Linked DNA regions of Homo sapiens: regions 1 and 3 are each linked to region 2. The links are contacts of gene promoters, found by promoter capture Hi-C in human tissues and cell types (Jung and others, 2019). All regions are on one chromosome and are shown on one strand. Each heading gives the region's core, a stretch centred on a gene start or on the middle of the fragment in contact. The rest is flanking DNA. Distances are from core to core; before and after follow the strand shown.

What was found. The method cuts DNA at HindIII sites, captures the fragments that hold promoters and counts their contacts. A contact is called where the count stands out against the background at its distance.
Region 1: a fragment that was not itself captured here is called in contact with the fragment with the promoter of NAT16 in region 2 in 1 of the 25 tissues and cell types used here (lymphoblastoid cells).
Region 3: a contact is called between a fragment that was not itself captured here and the fragment with the promoter of NAT16 in region 2, in 1 of the 25 tissues and cell types used here (dorsolateral prefrontal cortex).

Annotation. Positions count from the first base shown.
Region 1 is chr7:102,397,871-102,402,229 of GRCh38, reverse strand. PRKRIP1 (PRKR interacting protein 1) reads right to left here. Exons shown (of 6, transcript NM_024653.4): 3 at 2,582-2,682. LOC100630923 (LOC100289561-PRKRIP1 readthrough) reads right to left here. Exons shown (of 9, transcript NR_038967.1): 6 at 2,582-2,682. Among named protein-coding and RNA genes, the nearest start is that of PRKRIP1, 3.7 kb to the right of the region's middle. The HindIII fragment of the contact is 8,345 bases long and covers 1-4,359 here.
Region 2 is chr7:101,178,374-101,182,930 of GRCh38, reverse strand. It overlaps NAT16 (N-acetyltransferase 16 (putative)), which reads left to right and starts at 2,638. Exons shown (of 4, transcript NM_198571.3): 1 at 2,638-2,889. RefSeq lists silencers at 184-401, 2,469-2,763 and an enhancer at 2,135-2,857. The HindIII fragment of the contact is 15,471 bases long and covers 1-4,557 here.
Region 3 is chr7:102,373,303-102,378,178 of GRCh38, reverse strand. It overlaps LOC100630923 (LOC100289561-PRKRIP1 readthrough), which reads right to left. Exons shown (of 9, transcript NR_038967.1): 3 at 2,230-2,356; 4 at 1,857-1,967. It also overlaps the pseudogene LOC100289561. Among named protein-coding and RNA genes, the nearest start is that of SPDYE6, 19 kb to the right of the region's middle. The HindIII fragment of the contact is 5,084 bases long and covers 1,085-4,876 here.

The DNA of each region.
Region 1 (4,359 bases), core at 1,510-4,009, 1.2 Mb before region 2:
CTCAAGTGATCTTCCCACCTTGGCCTTCCAAAGTGCTGGGATTACTGATGTGAGCTGCCGCACCCAGCTTGATGGTTTCTATACACAGAGCATTATTTTTGACAGGCAAACCCACTGCAGTGACCTGGTAGAATTTTGTGACAAAAACTGTCTAATACTTCTCACTAGGATTGAGACTGTTACCAACAAAAGATGGCAGAAACAAGAAGAACCACCAACACCCAGGGGCCAGGAAAAACTACAGGACAAGCAAGTATCAGTTGACAGCCAGCACAACAATGACCCCATTCTGTTTCCAGAGCAGGACATTTTTTCTTCTTCTTTTTTCAGAAGGAGTCTCACTCTGTCGCCCAGGCTGGAGTGCAGTGGCACAATCTCAGCTCACTGCAACTTCCGTCTCCCAGGTTCAAGTGATTCTCCTGCCTCAGCCTCCCAAGTAGCTGGGATTACAGGTGTGCACCACTGCGCCTGGTTAATTTTTGTTTTTGTTTTTTTTGAGACAGAGTTTCACTCTTGTTGCCCAGGCTGGAGTGTAATGGCGCAATCTCAGCTCACCGCAACCTCCAACTCCTGGGTTCAAGCGATTCTCCTGCCTCAGCCTCCCGAGTAGCTGGGATTATAGGCATGTGCCACCACGCCCGGCTAATTTTGTATTTTTAGTAGAGATGGGGTCTCACCATGTTGGCCAGGCTGGTCTTGAAATCCTGACCTCAAGTGATCCACCCACCTTGGCCTCCTAAAGTGCTGGGATTACAGGCATGAGCCACCACGGCTGGCCCCCCAAAGCAGAATTTTTTCTAACTCAATTTTGGCCATTCCAATAAATTCTTACATATTTTCTTCTGTATCCTGGCTGTCTCTTTGGTTTAAATTTTCCCTAATGTTTTATTTTGAAAATTTCAAACAGAAAAGTTAAAAGAATTATACAGCAGATATATCCACTGCTCTTTGACTCAACAATTCCTGTTGTGCTGGATTTTCTTTATCACACACCTATTGATCTATCCATACCTCTATTGGTATGCACTGTATTATGTCTTCCCAGCAGTCCTGTTTCCAAGCCTCATTTTCCTCATCTATAAAATGGGGAAAATTATGATTCCTCCCTTCCAGAGCTCTACTCATACATCTATTCCTCCACTAATTCATCATTTTTTTGTTTGTTTGTTTTGGTGCATTTCAAAGTAAGCTGCAGACATCGGGAAGTTCCATTCTTGAACATTCAAGCATGCACGTTATTAAATAGGGTTTCATATTTGTGTATGCTTTTCTTCTTCCTTTTAAAGTAATAGCTGGCCGGGCATGGTGGCTCACGCCTGTAATCCCAGCACTTTGGGAGGCCGAGGCAGGTGGATCACTTGAGGTCAGGAGTTCAAGACCAGCCTGGCCAACATACTGAAACCCCATCTCTACTAAAAATACAAAAAATTAGCCAGGCATGGGGGTTGTGCCTATAGTCCCAGCTACTCAGGAAGCTGAGGCAGGAGAACCACTTGAAACTGGGAGGTGGAGGTTGCAGTGAGCCAAGATCACCCCACTGCTCTCAGCCTGGGCAACAAGAGCAAAACTCCATCTCAAAATAATAAATAAAGTTAGTATCTACACAGAACCAAATGCCCAGATCTCGAGTGTACAGTTTGATCACCCCAGAAAGTCCCCTCATACGTCTTTTCCCAGTCAACCGTGACCCCAACCAGATAACCAGTTTTTTTTTCTCACACAAACTAATTGTACCTGCTCTAAAACGTCATATAAATGAAATTACACAATATGGTCTCTTTCGTGCAAGGCTTCTTTTACTCACCATGTTTAAAGATTCATCCCAGTTGCTGTACAGATCAGTAGTTTGTTCCTTTTTATGGCTAAATATTACAATATTTTATGATTATTTCTTGGTGTTATTTTTTTTTTCCTTTTTTTGAGATGGAGTTTCACTCTGTCGCCCAGGCTGGCATGCAATGGTGCAATCTAGGCTCACTGCAACCTCCACCTCCCACGTTCCAGCAATTCTCCTGCCTCAGCCTCCTAAGTAGCTGGGACTACAGTTGCCCACCACCACGCCCAGCTAATTTCTGTATTTTTAGTAGAGACGGGGTTTTGTATTTTTAGTAGAGACTCTGCATTTTGTGCTGTCCGTAGAAGGCAGACCTCACACCAGCCACAACTAGCAGTATCTATTCTTCCTCAAACGCTTTTTTCTTTTCTTTTCTCTCTTTTTTTTTTTTTTTGAGATGGAGTTTCGCTCTTGTTGCCCAGGCTGGAGTGCAATGGCACGATCTTGGCTCACTGCAACCTCCATCTCTTGGGTTCAAGAGATTCTCCTGCCTCAGCCTCCTGAGTAGCTGGGATTACAAGCATGCACCTGGCTAATTTTGTATTTTTAGTAGAGACAGAGTTTCTCCATGTTGGTCAGGCTGGTCTCAAACTCCCGACCTCAGGTGATCCCCTGCCTCGGCCTTCCAAAGTGCTGGGATTACAGGCCTGAGCCACCACGCCCAGCCTCTTCAAATGCTTTTTTCTAAAGAAAGTACACGCACACTGCCCAAACATGGGGGCTCAGCCAGCCTTCTGGCTCACTGACCTTCTCAGCCATGGCATCCATGTAGTCCTGTCGCTGATATTCTCTCCGGCGCAGATGTCTGTACACGTGGAACTCTCCACTGCCGGCCCCAGCACTTGAACCTGTAGCCAGAACAGTCCACAGTTCTAGATGAAATTCAGTTACCAACACAGGTCACCCTTAATCGAGGGTGACTAAAGAAACAAAAAGTGGAAGTCGTGGAAGGGACCATGCCTTCCTTTCTCCCCACTGTATCCAGAACTGGCCCAGTACCTGGCATATTGTAGATGTCGTGAATTATTTGTTCTATGAATGTTGAATGTAAAGTCACTAAAAATCCCACTCAAATGCAGTATCAGGAGGGGCAGACTGTGGTTAAGTGACTTTCTCACCTCCTCCATGATTTCACATTTGACACGCTAAATTTCTAGTGAGTTGAAAAGACATCCATGATACATTAAATGAAATAAAGGTGCTTACAAAGTTGTATATGTAGAACAATCATATTTTTGTAAAAGTGTTTTTTCTTCAGCTTTTTTCTTTTTTTTGAGACAGGGCCTTGCTCTGTCACCCAAGATGGAGGGCAGTGGCGCAATCACAGCTCATTGGAGCCTCAACCTCCTGGGCTCAAGCCATCCTCCTGCCTCAGCTTCCCAAGTAGCTGGGACCAGAGGCATGCACCACTATGCCTGGCTAATTTTTACATTTTTAGTAGAGATGAGGTCTTCCTGTGTTGCCCAGGCTGGTCTCAAACTCGAGCAATTCTCCTGTCTCGGCCTCCCAAAGTGCTGGGATTACAGGCACGAGCCACCGTGCCTGGCCTATGTTGCTTTTTAAAGACATAATGCTATTGCACATTAAACTACAGTAGAGTATAAAGAAAACTTGTATGTGCAGTGGGAAACTAAAGAATTTACATGATTCCCTTTATTGCGACATTCACTTTAACTAGGTTGCCTGGAACTAAACCCGCACCATCTCCATGGTAAGCCTGTAGATATGTTAATTTATGATCCAACAAAATAATAAAACTATTTTTATTTACAAAAAAACCACAATGCGTTATTAAGAATAATGCAGGAGATGGCCGGGCACTGTGGTTCACAGCTGTAATCCTAGCATTTTGGGAGGCTGAGGCGGGCGGATCACCTGAGGTCAGGAGTTCAAGACCAGCCTGGCCAACATAGTGAAACCCAGTCTCTACTAAAAATAAAACAATCAGCCAGGCATGGTGGCACGGGCCTGTAGTCCTAGCTACTCAGGAGGCTAAGGCAGGAGAATCGCTTGAACCCGGAAGGCGGAGGTTGCAGTGAGCCGAGATGGTGTCACTGCACTACAGCCTGGGTGACAGAGTGAGACTCTGTCTCCAAAAGAAAAACAAAAACAAAAACAAAAACAAAAAAAACCGCAATACTGCAGGAGAAAATTCTATAGTGCCAAACCATAAGCAACTATAGCCCTTAAGCTAAATTTACCAATGTCAAATGAAAAACAAATAAAAGCAACTATATCCCCGTCATTGTAAAAGCAAAACACGAACATGTGAACACACATTTCCCCTCATCAGAGATTTAACAAATACCAACTACAGGATTTTTATAGCTACCTTTTTTTTTTCTTTTTGAGACAGAATGTCGCTCTGTTGCCCAGGATGGAGTGCAGTGGCGCCATCTCGGCTCACTGCAAGCTCCGCCTCCTGGGTTCACGCCATTCTCCTGCCTCAGCCTCCCAAGTAGCTGGGACTACAGGTGCCTGCCACCACGCCCGGCTAATTTTTTTTGTATTTTTAGTAGAGACGG
Region 2 (4,557 bases), core at 1,389-3,888:
TCACCCCACATCACCACCACTCTACTGGGTAGAGGGTAATCCTGGAACCTAGGCCAGCCACGCCAGGGCTGTCTCCTCTCAGCCAGATCTCTCCTCCATCCCAGAATAGGCCGCCTCCCTGCAACCTCTGAGCACTCAGGCAGCTGAAAGCCACTTGTTCTCTAGCTGAGAGGAAAACCGGCTCTCCTAGATGTGTGAGAATGAAGCCTGGAACAAGATGGCTTTCCATTGGCCCAGTGAGCTGTTTGGAGGCGGGACTTACAGTGACAACTTGCTTCTGAGTGGCTTGGACTTAAGGGGAGGGGCCGAAACGTTGGTAAACTTTTAATTCTGAATGGCTGATGGAACTGGAAGTGTGTGAGGGTTGGGCCAATCCAAGAGTTTCTGTTGGTGGAAGGTGTGGCTTCTGGCGAAAGGGGCGGGATTAGCATATGATGGTCTCTCCCTTTGGCCACTAGTGATTTTTTCCTTGAAACCTGTAACTTTTTGAAGTTCTTTCCCATCATGAAGCATATGGCACCTTAACTGCAATCTGCAGTTTGGTGAGACGCACAGTGTGTTAGCACTTTCAGAGATCAGAAATGGGGGGAAGTCCTATTAAAAAATGTTGAGTAACTTGTCAGTTGCATTTTGCCCTGCCTCAGCCTAGAAGTCGGGATTCTCATCCCTTTAACCCTTGGTGTTATTCCTGTTTAGCCCTTTAACCCTCGGTTGGAATTCCTGTATGTGGGATTCCAGGAACATGACCTTCCTTCTTATTGCATTGGCACATCCAATGGGATCAGTTTGCCTGATTATGAAGTTATCACCTCGGAAAGTAAAGAAAGAAAAAATGGAATAAGATGGGTGAACAATGAATTTTGGGGTGGGGGAGAGGGTAGGGGGAGCATGAGAGCTGGGCGGCCCCTGGAGAGAGGACTCCAGCAGACCTTGAAAGGCCTTAACATTATTCCCTGCATCGGCCGGGCACGGTGGCCCACGCCTGTAATCCCAGCACTTTGGGAGGCCGAGGCGGGCGGATCACGAGGTCAGGAGATCGAGACCATCCTGGCTAACACGGTGAAACCCCGTCTCTACTAAAAATACAAAAAATTAGCCGGGGGTGGTGGCGGGCGTCTGTAGTCCCAGTTACTGGGGAGGCTGAGGCAGGAGAATGGCATGAACCCGGGAGGCAGAGCTTGCAGTGAGCCGAGATCGCGCCACTGCACTCCAGCCTAGGCGAGAGTGAGACTCCTCTCAAAAAAAAAAAAAAAAAATTATTCCCTGCATCTCCAAAGCAGTTTACAGTTGCTAAAGGGCTTTGTCCATCACTTTCCTGGCTCCTTACAGGGTAGAACTGAAGGTGTTCTGATCTCACTTTATTTATTATTTTATTTTATTTTGAGTTGGATTCTCGCTCTGCCGCGCAGGCTGGAGTGCAGTGGCACGATCTCGGCGCATTGCAATCTCTGCCTCCCGGGTTCAAGCGATTCTCCTGCCTCAGCCTCCCAAGTAGCTGAGATTACAGGTGCAGGCCACTGTGCCCGGCTGATTTTTGTATTTTTAGTAGAAACGGGGTTTCGCCATGTTGGCCATGCTGGTCTTGAACTCCTGACCTCAGGTGATCCTCCCACCTCGGCCTCCCAGAGTGCTGGGATTACAGGCATGAGCCACCGTGCCCGGCCAGGCCAGGCTAATTGTTGTATTTTTAGTAGAGACGGGGTTTCACCATGTTGGCCAGGCTGGTCTCGAACTCCTGACCTCAAGTGATTCCCCCGCCTCGGCCTCCCAAAGTGCTGGGATCACAGGCTTGAGCCACCGCACCCAGTCTTGAGCTCACTTTATAGGTGGGATGGAGAACCTTGTAGGAGTTAAGAGCCTGGGCCACCGCCTTATTAGAGCAGGGGCAGCGCTGCACCCACCCGGGTCCCAGCTCCACACTTCCCTCTTCCTCCCCAGCCACCAGGATCAGCGTGGGGTGCAGCGCCTCCTGAGTGCAGAGGTCTGTGTGAATGTGCCTGGGTGTGCGCTGTGTACCTGGAGGTCTTTCTGCCTGCTGTCCCGTGGGGTACATTGTGGATTTAGGGGCCTTGTGCACCCGGGGAACCAGGGTGCTCAGGCACCCACGCAGTGGTGAGAAGATGGAGAGATCTTGGCCTCCCTCTGCCCTTTTCAGCCTTTCAACTTCTGTCTCTTGATGTCTCTTCGCCTTCCCGGTGTTCTAGGGTTTCTGATTCCCTCTATCAGTTTCCGGGGACGAAGGCTCGGAGTCCCCTTCCCAGCCGCTCTTATAATGGAGAGAGGAGATTCCATTGAGGGGTGGCTCCTGGAGGAGGGGTACTTCAGGGCAGTGGGGGACCCCCGGACAGAGAACGGAGGTGCTGGGCGTGGGGTGGGGAGATAACTAAGCCAGCAACACCAGCATCACCACCACCAAAACCCGAGACACCACCATCCTCAGTCCCACTCCCCAGCCGGGACACAGGGCGGAGTCTCGCCAGTAGGGCTTGAGGCCACCCAGCTGCCCAGGGCGCACCCCGACCCCCGGCCCCGCCAGCAGGGCACGAGTCCGCTCCGGATCCGTCCCGGGTTTCTTCCGCGTCGCCGGGGTCTCCGCCCCTCGAAGCTGCCGCCGGAGCGTCGCCGGGGGAGCCACGCGTGCCACCCGAACCCCTGAACCGATGGGCGCCCCGGCCCGCGTCGCCAACGGAGCTGCGGCGCTGCCCCAGCGCTGACCGACGTTAGAGTCGGGCTCCGACAGCGCGGCCGAGTCCCCGCGCGTCATCCTCCTTTGACTCTTGGGGGCTCCAAAGGGACCTCTCTCTTGGCACCGGGGGTGTCTGCGCCCGCCGCCCGCCCCGCTTGGCTTTGCGGCATCTCGGCCCTGGCTCCAGCTCCGGCTCCGGCGAGGTAGGGGGGCGGCCGGGCCTGGGGACTGGGGAGGGGGCTAGCGTGCTCCTCCACCGCAGAATGGGGCAGCAGAAGGCCACCGCCCCTCAGGGGGACCAAGCGGCTGCGCCCCCTTCTGCCCAGCCCCTCCCAGTCCGAAGACCCAGAAAACTGAGTCAGAGGCTGCGCTTCAGGTGTCCAGAAGCGCTCCCCCGCCCCCCTCTGTTGCCATGTCGCTCCCACCTGTCCCCAGGGTCCGGCGCCCAGGGGAACCCCCGCCAAGCAGATCGCTCCCTTTGCAATCTCCCTCTCCCCCAAGCCCAAGCCCCCAATCCGGGGTAGAGGCAGAGGGAAGACCCTCACTCGGGAAGACCCTGCAGGACAGCCCCCCCTTCTCCACTACTGTGGCCCTCTGGGGCCCTCCCCCCACCCCCTTTGGCTGGGCCATCTTCCTCGGCCCCTGCCTCTGCCCACCCCCTAGGCCTTCTCTCCCGCCCCCACTTCATCGCCTCTCCCCGTCTCTGTTTCCAAGGTTGTTCTCTTACGGCCTTTTTTCTGACTTTCTTTTCCCCTTGACCCCTTCCCCTCCACGGATCCCCGCCCCCCATACCCCGGGGCGAAGGGGGTGTGTCACGCTGCTTTCTATTTACAGTGTCCCAGGGGAGGGGGTGCGTGCTAGGATTTTTTTTTTTTCATCTGCTGGGCCCAGAGTCACGAGGTGTCATGTCTGTGATTCGGTGTCGAAGCCTCCTCCGGCTTCCCTGCCTGTCCCCTGCGGCCGCATCTCCTGTCCGCTTTTGTCTGCTCTCTGCCTCCATTCCCGTCCTTTTCGCTCTCATCTTTGGGCGCTTTGTGCAGCTGCCTTCTTTGTCTCCGCCTCTCCGGCGACTGGGCTCTCCCTTCCCTCCCTCTCCTCCCTCCCCCAGTGTCAAGAAGCCATCGGCCTCAAGGGCATCGATATTTCAGGTGTGTGGGGTGTGGTGGGAGTGGGGTGCGGGTGGGTGGGCTGCCGGCATTCCCAGCTCTGACTCCGATCATGCCCAGCTATGACTCTGATCACCCCCTCCCCAAAGAGATCATTCATATTTATGAGATTTAAAGAATGTCCCCAAGGATGTGGGGATAGACATGAAGAGAGAAATGTTATTCCTCTTTTTTTTTTTTTTTTTTTTTGACAGCGTTTCACTCTTGTTGCCCAGGCTGGAGTGCAATAGCGTGATCTCGGCTCACCACAATCTCGGCCTCCCGGGTTGAAGCGATTCTCCTGCCTCAGCCTCCTGAGTAGCTGGGATTACAGGAATGCGCCAGCACGCCCGGCTACTTTTGTATTTTTTTTTTTTTTTTTTTTTTTTAGTAGAGAGAGGGTTTCTCCATGTTGGTCAGGCTGGTCTCCAACTCCTGACCTCAGATGATCCGCCTCCCTTGGCTTCCCAAAGTGGTGGGATTATAGGCATGAGCCACCACGCCCGGCCAAGAAATGCTGTCCCTCTTTTAGGAGGGCGCTTGGTCCAGGAGATACCTGGACTACATTTCTGACAGTGCCCTGGACTCACCAGCTGCCTCCGCCTCTGCCTAGACATCTGATGAGAGTTAAGAGTTCCACGGAGCCAGGCTGGAGGGTGCTGGACTGGAGGGTAGGAAGTGGTCACCATGTGAAGCAAGGGTTACAGGCTAGCCCACAGCTTTGGC
Region 3 (4,876 bases), core at 2,377-4,876, 1.2 Mb before region 2:
AAATAAATAGGCTGGGCACAGTGGCTCAGGCCTGTAATCCCAGCACTTTGAGAGGATGAGGCAGGCGGATCACAAGGTCAGGAGTTAGAGACGAGCCTGACCAATATGGTGAAACCCCATCTCTACTAAAAATATAAAAATTAGCCAGGCATGGTGGTGTGCACCTGTAATCCCGGCTGCTTTGGGAGGGTGAGGCAGGAGAATCCCTTGAACCTGAGAGGGGGAGGCTGCACTGAGCCGAGATCATGCCATTGCACTCCAGCCTGGGTGACCAGAGTGAGACTCCATCTCAAAAAGGAAGGAAGGAAGGAAGCGAGGGAGGGGAGGGGAGGAAGAAAGGGAGGGAAAATATATATTATCTGGGCCAGTAAAATGCAGATGAAGGAAAAGGACCATGATCCTTTGAATGGAAGATGGATCCACTGTAATCCAGGTATGGGAGAATACTGAACACTAATGTCAAAAGAAACAATGTGCTGATGATCTGCAAGGCATTTCACAGAAGACAAAGAACACAAACAATGGAGAGGAGACTAACACAATCAAATACTGGGAGGTGAGGAAGGTAGACAGAATTCATGATTTTGGAATGTGCACAGTTTATCATCAGACATTCTGAGAAAGAAGGAAGTGAACTATCTCACTGGTACTGCTATGTTGTCAAGTAAAATATTCAACTAGGTTAAAAGTGTCAGACATATCAATCTGGAGGCAAACTGCAAAAATACACAAGAAAAAAGGTCTTAGAAGTTGAGATTAGAAAAACTCTTTTAAGGGATACAAAGAAAACCAAAAAAGTAGAAAACGGGTTCTAGGGGGACACTCCTGAAAAGGCAAGAAAAGGAACCAACATTCCCTTATGAAATTCACACTTCCTGAATGTCTACTATGGACAGAGCATGATGCCAGTTATGGGGAAGGGGAAATGAACACACAGACGGGTCATAAATGAGCACTGGGGAAAGAGGGGAAAGCTGAGGGAGCGCTATATCATCACATCAACTGAGCATGGACTTGGGGAAATAAGGTAAACCACAAGCTGTGACTCAATTCGCAAGCATAGGTAGAGGACGAGGTTTTGGTATCTGAATGCCTAAAGAAGTAAATAAAATCGAGGGCAGAAAATAAGTCCAAGGTATTTTTAAAGCAAGGAAGGAAAGAAAATGGAAGATTAAAAGAATGAACCTAAAAGTCTCAAGTTAATTTTTATGTCAGACTTCTGAATGCCCCAAAACAAAACAATTCTGTAAGGCCGAAAGCAGTGGCTCAGGACTGTAATCTCAGCACTTTGGAAGGCTGAGGTGGGCAGATCACTTGAGGCCAGAAGTTCAAGACCAGCATGGCCAACATGGTGAAACCCAGTCTCTATTAAAAATACAAAAATTAGCCAGGCGTGGTGACATGTGCCTGTAATCCCAGCTACTCAGGAGGCTGAGGAAGGAGAATCGCTTGAACCTGAGAGATAGTGGTTGCAGTGAGCGAGAACATACCAGTGCACACCAGCCTGGGTGATAGAACAAGACTCTGTCTCCAAAAAACAAACAAACAAACAAACAAACAAAAAACTCACAACAATTCTCTAATGGCGAGGGAGTAAATAAGTGAGCGATAATGCTGGAGAAAGAGGAAGTGACTGGGTCCCCAGTACAGGTTAGAATGAAAAAATCCCTACCAATGTAAATCAAATGTAAAATCAACAAAAGAGTTCATGTATGTGGTATGTGTGTGGGAAGGAAAGTGATATTTGGGGGTTGGGAGGTGTTACTGAGGGTACCGAGTACATATAAACAACTCTTTAGTCACTCCCAAAGGTCGGGGATGAGTGTTTTTTAACATGTGATAATCTACTAACTTACCTGGACTATGTTGACATGGAAATTCACCTTCCATTATCCACGGCTCCTCTCCCTGCTCCACTTCCTTCACCTCCACTCCATGATGATGTTTGGCTTGGTGATAATCATACCCTGTTAATGGGAAAAGAAGAAGGACTTGGGCAAGCTGCTTGGCTTCAGAATCTCCAAAGTACAAGATGTTGCCACCTCATAAGCTGCATAACAGAAGTGCTCCATTTTTTACCTTATCAAAGTTAGAACCTTTCAATGAAGAATAATATAAACGCTCCAGCTAGTGCCCACAAGGAATTAAATGGTGTCATCACTTATTTCTTCAAACTCAAGGATAAAACCCCATTCAACTGAGAGCATTCAGAAAGCAAGCTATCCTCACCCACAGAAACTAGATGGCTGTAGTTCTCCAACATCACATCCCCGTATGCTATCTTCTCATCAGGGTCCAGTTGCTGCCACTCCTCCTGGGTGAAATCCACAGCCACATCTTTGAATGACACTGGCCCCTGTAATGGCAACATGATCAGAATTGGGAGATATGGAAAAGGGATAGGGGGATATCATTTTACAAAGCTCACTCGTAAAGTTAACCATGAACATTGTATACCTTATTTTATGTTACAGATTATGGAAGGGAAATCATATTGGAAATCATACAGGAAACATATATCCTTTGGGGATATATATATATAAAATATATATTACCCCACAAAAATAAAAACCCAAAACACAACTGAGCTCCTATTTTGCAACTGAACTGAGTTTTGGGGACATGAGATGAGTGAAACACCATGCCTGCTCTGAGAAAGCAGACAACCTAATAAGGAGATAAACATGTAAACAAACACAAGCATTTTACTCCTTGTCACTTCTTTGCTGCCAGGCCCTCCCCTTCTCCTGGACCTCTTCATGTTGGAGTGCCCACCACTCAGTTCCTGGTCTTCTTCTTCCTAACTCACTGCTCTGGGGCTCTCACCTAGTTTCAGCTCCTTGTTCTTTTGTCTTTTTTATTCTCATAGCCAGTGGCCTCTGGCTATCTGCATGGCTGAGTTTTATCTCAAACATCTCAATCTCACAGCAATAAATATTCATTAAATGAATGAATGCCCAAAGCTGTTATTAGAGTAATGCAGACAAGGTGCAGAATGATTTAACAAAAGAGGATCAAATTATTTTAACTTTATGCCATCAGTTAGGCTTCACAGACTCAGTTAACTTGAAGTCCTTAAAGATGAATTGTGTATTCTATGGGATGAAGGGGAAGAAGAATATGATGAGGTGTAAAAAGTACCAATGGCAAACATGAAGCAGCTTCAATTTTTAAGAGGTTGGGGCTGGGCATGGTGGCTCATGCCTATAGTCCTAGCACTTTGGGAGGCCGAGATGGGAGGATCATTTGAGCTCAGGAGTTCGAGGCCACGTTGGGCAACATAGTAAGAACCTCATCTCTACTAAAAATAAAATTTTTTTTAAAAATTGGCTGGGCATCATGGCACATGCCTGTAGTTCCAGCTACCTGGGAGGCTAAGGCAGGAGGATGGCTTGAGCCTGGGAGGTCAAGGCTGCAGTGAGCTGTAAATGCGACACTGCACTCCATCCTAGGCAACAGAGCGAGACCTTGTCTCAAGAAAAAAAAAAGAAAAATGCAAAACTCCTGGGCTCCAGCAATCCACCTGCCTTGGCCTCCCAAAGTGTTGGGATTACAGTCTTGGGCCAGCATACCCTGCCCAAACTTGTAGTTTAGAAAAAGGAAGTGCCCAGTAAGCATGTTGCATTATCCTGTTATTTATAAAGAAGATATCAACAAGGGGTTCAAACCCAGTGATATAGCTAGGACAATGTAGATCCCAAGAGATAGCAGAGGCAGAGCCGCTAGGCTGGTGGGCTGAGAAACTAAAGCAGAACATCCAAGCTTATCCACAGGCAGGCCACAGGAGCTGATAAAATCACCGAGAGAGAGTAATAACCTTCTAGGTTAAGTTAGTCCAGAAGGCAAGGAGGTGGAGGGGTTAGAAGATGGATCAGCCAATAAATAACATAAAATTACATGCCAATACAATACCACTTATATCAATACAAATACCCAAAATGAAACATAACCAAACAAAATCCAGTACCAGATTAAAAACATAATATACAACAGACAAATAGGACTTATTCCAATAATATAGACTAGTTTAATATTTGGAAACCTATTAATATGATAGGCCACTATAACACAGCAAAGAAGAAAAATCTTGTATCCATGAAGATACTTGAAAAAGCTTGACAGAAAAACCTGATTTAAAAAAACAAACTAAAGAAAACAGAAACTGATGGATGCTTCATTAACATCAATATTATGTATATATACAAATATAAATATTACACCCTAATATGCAGTAGTACGTATGATATATATGTGACATATGTATTTCAATTACACACAAGCACATATATAGTTTGTGTATATACACACACACGCACATGCACGTGCACACACACACGCACACACATAAACTCTTATGCCTCAGTCTTCTTGGTCCAAAAGTCAGGATTTTACTTAACAGGGAAAAACTACATACCTTCCCATTAAGATCAAGAACAAGGTATTAATAAAATGCTCATTATCTACAACTAGAGAAGAGAAAACAATTAGAGGAATATAACTAAGGAAAAGTAAAAGTGCTCGGGCGGCCAGGCGCGGTGGCTCACGCCTGTAATCCCAGCACTTTGGGAGGCCAAGGCGGGCGGATCACGAGGTCAGGAGATCGAGACCATCCTGGCTAACACGGTGAAACCCCGTCTCTACTAAAAATACAAAAAATTAGCCGGGCATGGCGGCGGGTGCCTGTAGTCCCAGCTACTCGGGAAGCTGAGGCAGGAGAATGAAGGGAACCCAGGAGGCGGAGTTTGCAGTGAGCCGAGATTGTGCCAGTGCACTCCAGCCTGGGCGACGAGTGAGACTCCATCTCAAAAAAAAAAAAAAAAAAGTGCTCGGGCACGGTGGCTCACGCCTGTAATCCCAACACTTTGGGAGGCTGAGG